Regions from separate parts of the Homo sapiens genome. Here region 2 is linked to region 1. The links are contacts of gene promoters, found by promoter capture Hi-C in human tissues and cell types (Jung and others, 2019). All regions are on one chromosome and are shown on one strand. Each heading gives the region's core, a stretch centred on a gene start or on the middle of the fragment in contact. The rest is flanking DNA. Distances are from core to core; before and after follow the strand shown.

The links. Contacts are between HindIII fragments. The study calls those that stand out against the background at their distance.
Region 2: a contact is called between a fragment that was not itself captured here and the fragment with the promoter of QRICH2 in region 1, in 1 of the 25 tissues and cell types used here (lymphoblastoid cells).

Annotation. Positions count from the first base shown.
Region 1 is chr17:76,306,967-76,309,666 of GRCh38, forward strand. QRICH2 (glutamine rich 2) reads right to left here and starts at 1,310. Exons shown (of 19, transcript NM_001388453.1): 1 at 499-1,310. The coding sequence starts at 1,032. It overlaps PRPSAP1 (phosphoribosyl pyrophosphate synthetase associated protein 1), which reads right to left. Exons shown (of 10, transcript NM_002766.3): 10 at 2,512-2,700. The HindIII fragment of the contact is 11,814 bases long and covers 1-2,700 here.
Region 2 is chr17:76,085,348-76,088,047 of GRCh38, forward strand. It overlaps EXOC7 (exocyst complex component 7), which reads right to left. Exons shown (of 19, transcript NM_001013839.4): 12 at 2,307-2,373; 13 at 733-798; 14 at 330-450; 15 at 1-62. Among named protein-coding and RNA genes, the nearest start is that of ZACN, 7.5 kb to the left of the region's middle. The HindIII fragment of the contact is 7,063 bases long and covers 1-2,700 here.

The DNA.
Region 1 (2,700 bases), core at 60-2,559:
CTCCATCCTGACTCCCCTTCTCTGGGAGCCTTTGTCCTCAACACGTATCTCTTCATGTCCTTATTCATTTTAAAAAGGGAATTCACTCTAAGAATCTTCTGAGAAGTTGCCGGCCCCACTCTGAGCCAGCTCTGGGTCCTTGGATGTCTGATAAGTGGTGGGCGAACCTCTCCCGTAAACAGGGGCTAGGAAGGAGGGGGTGGGATGGGGCCACTACACTTAGGAGGTGGGGTCCCCAGGCCCCTCCAGCTCGGGGAGGCCCTAGGCCTTTTGGTGGCGTTCTTTTAGGATTTTCACGTCTTGCAGCCCCGTGGACTGCAAGGTAGAGCATGGGCCACTCTATTTAGCCAGTCGCACTGAGGTCTGGCACCTCCTCGGTCCCCATCCCCTCCGTCCCCACCACCGCTCACCCCTCCAGGGTGGTGGGGACTCGGCTAGGCCTGGAGGGCGGCCTGGAGGAGGCAGACGGCCTGCGCGTGCCTCCGTGTGCGTGCTCACCCTGGCAAAGCTGAGCTCCTCGGCGGCGTCCTTCATGATACTCCCAGTCCGCACCCTATCGAACGCCCGCACGCCCACCTCCTGCTCCTCCGGCCACTCTAGCGCGGCCAGGTCAAGCCCGCTGGCCTGGGAGAAGTGCTGCACGTGCGTGGCGATGCCCTGCACCTGGCCGTCCACACGCTTGAGCTGCTTGCTCAGGTCCTCCACCTGGCCGCCCAGGTCCTTCACTTGGCTCTCCAGCGCTGACGAAGGCGCCTGGCCCACGCCCCTGCGCTTCTCCCGGGGCGCCCCCTTGGGCACCTCCTTGGGCGCGGGCAGGTGCGGGATGCTGAACGAGCTCCGGACGGACTGCAGCGAGCGGCTGGGCTCGGGCGACGAGGGCTGGAAGTCGATCCGGGTATTTTGGAGGTCGAGGTTCTTGAGCATGGCCACGATGAGCGTGTGCAGGGCCGTGAAGTTGACGGCGCCCACCTCTGGCGTGCCGATGGAGAGGTCCGCCAGCTCCCGGAGGGAGACCGTGGTCGCGGGCGGCATCGTGGCTGTCAGGAGCTGTGCGCCGCCGCGGGGCGCCGGCCAACCACTTCCCGCTCACTGCACGCCGCGCCTTGGGGCCTTTCGGGGGCCCTGCGAGGTCCTCGGGGCGCCCCTGCCCCGGGTCCGGCCGAGTCACTGGACAGAGCTCCTGCCTCCAGGGAATCTGCGCCTCCGCTCCCCGGCGGGGTCCGCGATGGCCACCCCTCCGCTGTCTGTCGCTGGCCTCGGGTCCCCGAGCTGGAGCCCTGGACTCCCAGTCCCCGCGCCGGCGGACGTTTGAAACGTGGGGGCCCCCGCGTGCCCTGAAGATTCCACGTAACAACACGCCTCCCTGCGAGCCACGGGGGCGGGGGGAAGTAAAGGCCACCACAAGGATCACAAGGGGAGCCTTGGCAACGGGCTGAGGAGGCCTCCTAAGATCCAGCTAGACTCCATCCATCCCCTTAACCTAGAAAGGCCAGGATTCACTCACTCTTGGCGGGGCCACATAAGGAAAGACTTGAGGGTTTCCTGGCAACCATGCTTTGTGTCATCAGCTGCGTCCATTCCAGAGTGGTGGCCCCATGTCTATGGCCCCATGTCTAAGGGATGCAGTCCTGGGGCCCTGGTCCCCTCAGACAGTCCACATATTTTGTTCAATCAAAGGTGAAGCAACTTGGAAAAGACAACCCACTCACTATTCAGGCAGTTCCAATTAGCCACTAGATGACTAACTGGTGGCTAATTGTCCCTTTTCTGTGCTGCCATAATTTTTTTTTTACTTTTGAGAGGGAGTCTTGCTCTGTCGCCCAGGCTGTAGTGCAATGGCACGATCTCGGCTCACTGCAACCTCTGCCTCCCGGGTTGACATGATTCTCCTGCCTCAGCCTCCCGAGTAGCTGGGATTACAGATGCGTGGTACCATGCCCGGCTAATTTTTTGTATTTTTAGCAGAGACGGGGTTTCACTATGTTGGCCAGGCTGGTCTTGAACTCCCGACCTCAAGTGATCGACCCACCTCGGCCTCCCAAAGTGCTGGGATTACAGGTGTAAGCCACCGCGCCCAGCCTGCCATAAATTAATTGATCTCAAAAAAACGGCCAGGCTTGGTGGCTCACACCTGTAATCCCAGCACTTTGGGAGGCCGAGGCGGGTGGATCACCTGAGGTAAGGGGTTCAAGGCCAGCCTAGCCAACATAGTGAAACCCCTCTGCTAAAAATACAAAAAATTAGCCGGGCATGGTACCGCGCATCTGTAATCCCAGCTACTCGGGAGGCTGAGGCAGGAGAATCGCGTCAACCCGGGAGGCAGAGGTTGCAGTGAGCCAAGATCGCACCACTGCACCCCAGCCTGGGCGACAGTGCAAGACTCTGTCTCAAAAAAAAAAAAAAAGAAAAGAAAAGAAACCACTCACCTGGTCAAGCGCCTGTGCTTGAGCTCATTACAAAGCAGGATTAAACAGCACGAGACAAATCTGGTGTTAACAATTGAGACATGACTTCCCCATACAAGATTCTTCCCAAAAACGTATAAATAAAACTTCCTAACAGAAGCACAGCAAGGCTACTTAAAGAGAACCTATGAATGTGTGCCATGCATGGCCAGCCTCCTCCGTGAGCTCTGCATCTGCAGATTTAACCAACCACGACTGAACACGTACAGATTCCTGTCATGATTCTCTAAATAAT
Region 2 (2,700 bases), core at 33-2,532, 220 kb before region 1:
GCTCCCGGTAGGAGCGCTCAGCAGTCTTCTGTGTCACTGCCACCAGCTGGATCAGTTCAGACCTGGGTCGGGGTAGGGGACAGAGGAGAGGAGGACAGGATTGGCTCCTCAGGCCCAAAGGCTGCGGCAATGCCGGGAGGGCCTCCCATTGCACCCCAAACTCCACAAGCTCTATGGCATCCCACCTTCCGGGTCCTGGGGTGGAGGAGACTGAAGCACCCCCTCCCCTCTCGTCCACAAGAGAAGGAGCCCAGGGGGGCAGGGGCTGGCACAGCTGCACAGCCGAGGGGAAGGTGAGAGCCGCAGACTCACTCCCGCAGGCCACTTACTTCTCCAGGGACTTGAGGATGTAATTGTAGTTGTTGTGCAGGAAGATGGCGCTCAGAGCTGGGTCCTCGTACACCTTGGACTTGCTCAGCAAGTTCAACTGCAGGTTGCCCAGCACTTTACCTGCACAGGGAAAAATGGGGCCACACCCACCATGGCAGTCTGACCCAAACGACCCCACCCCAGGACCCGCGAACGCGCTCCTATCCATCGCTCCTCGTCCTGCCTCAGGAGGCCTTAGCCCAACTCCCCTCAGCCTCTGAACTAGAGGTCAGGTTGTGGTTCCAAAGATCAGATGGCACTTAGGAGAGGGCCCTGGGAATAGCCAGAGAGCACAGACAGAAGGAAGGGAAAGGCAGGGCATGCAGGCAGCAGGGCTGCTGGTCTGCCCGGGAGAACACTCACAGATATAGGTGCTTAGCAGCCGCTTGCTGAACTCAGAGCTGTAGCTGGTGGCCGAAGAGCTGGTCTCTGTGAGAGGAGAAGTCCTGTTATTGCAGTGGCAGCAGCCAAGACCCTCAACGGCCCTTCCCCCAGGCCATGCAGCAGTCTGAGGGGACACTGAGACAGGCCCTGGGCTTCCTTGGGCAGAGCTGGCTGCCTGCTAAGCCACAGGGTGGCCCCTGCCGCAGGAAGCACCAGCCCTGGAGTTTTTGGAACCCAGAGCTGCCCTCTATGATGGGATGGAGCTGGCCCATGTCAGCAGAAAAGCTGGCAGGAAAAGAGTGAGATGCCAGCGCCCTGTCCCCTCCTGCCCCCACCCACCCTGGGTGGTTTCTACAAGGCCCCCTTTTTCCTTTTGTCAACAGCAGAGTCTTAGAATGGGCTCCCCACAGCCTCTCCACCTTCTCCCCTACATTCGAACATCCCCTCTACCAGACCCTACTGAACAGACGAAGCTGCGGCCTGCACAGTGGGGAAGGCCGAGTGGGGACAGCAAGGCAGGGAGGCCGGGCGAGCCTAGGGGGTGTATCCAGGGCTCTAGCCTGGGCAGGTGCTGCGGATAAGCTCAGAGACAGAGTGGCCTTGAAGGGAGCAGAGAGAGTTGAGAGCACCCCGAGAAAACTCATGTCCCCTCTGACTCAGGCTCCCCAGTAGGTACTGAGAGTCAGTCCCCAGGGAACCTCACCCACCAAGCTTCAGAGGGACAGGAGGGGGCTGCAGAACCGCACTGCTTACCTCGGGGGTCTAAAGGAATATTGTATGTGTCCCCAAGAACTACGGAGTGAAAGGCAGTGCACACAGAGGGGACAGAGGGAGAGACAAAGGAGGGAGAAAGATGCAAAGTGCAAAAAACAGGTTAGAAACGGCATGTCAACCCGAATTAAGCAGACCTCTCCCCACGACAGCCAAAACACAGATAGCAAGACACAGCAGGCGGGACCCTCTGAGGACCAGGGAACACCCTGGAAAGTAGAGAGCTGAGAACTGCAGGCTGGAGGCTGCCCACAGGCTCCTTGCCCCCAAAATGGGACGGGAGGAGAGGGCCCAGGGACCTCAGTGCTTGGAATGACCCAGAAAGGTGCTCTTGCTTACAGGCCAACCCCCTGAGCTCCAGTCCCAGGGCAGGGCCAGCAGGAAGACGCCCAGCGGGCCCTGAGACACTTGCTACCCTCTGAAGGCCAGCTGAGCGAGCCTGATTAGGAGAGCAGGCAGACACGAGAGAAGGATTTGGGAGGGGGGCAGGGGCAGAAAGGACACCTTCCAACCAACCAGCACCGCTCCCAGAGTGAGGACACTGCTTCCAGGGCGAGGACGGTCAAAGGGGCTGAGGGAGGGGCCAGAGGTCCAGTGTCTGGTCTTGAAAGGTGCAGGCAAACCTTGCTCTCCTGATGCTCAGCCCCAGGGACCCTCTGCTGAGCACACCTCAACCCCTCCACAGACTGGAGATACCTCCTCACTGCTACCTGCCCTCTAACCCCATGTCTCCAGGCAAGGAGGCGAGTGGGGCAGGGGGCCCAACTGGGAGGTACCAGTACCTTGGGAGGCCAGCATGGCGCCTGCCGTCTCCTGGAAGTCCAAAAGCTGCTGCAGGAAGAGGATGGCCTGGGTGGGAAGAAAACGGTGCAGAAGGGCAAGTGGCAGGCCCGGCCGACGGCCTCCCACAGCGACCCCTCTGAGTGCCCAGGGCCAGCCCAGGGCTGGGATCCGCCCAGTGAAGAGCGCGGCTGGAAACTTCATTTTCACTCTAGCCTGCCAGGAAAGGCCCTGTCTGCTAGAGACACTAAACATGTCACTGTCCATCCTGCCACCCAGGACTGCTCACAAAGGTGCGAGCGGCTCTGGGCCAGGCTGAGTCCCTTCCACCAGTACTCTGCCTGGCCCTGGGCCTGGGCCTGGGCCCTCCTTCCTCCCCTCTCCCTGGTGTCCTCA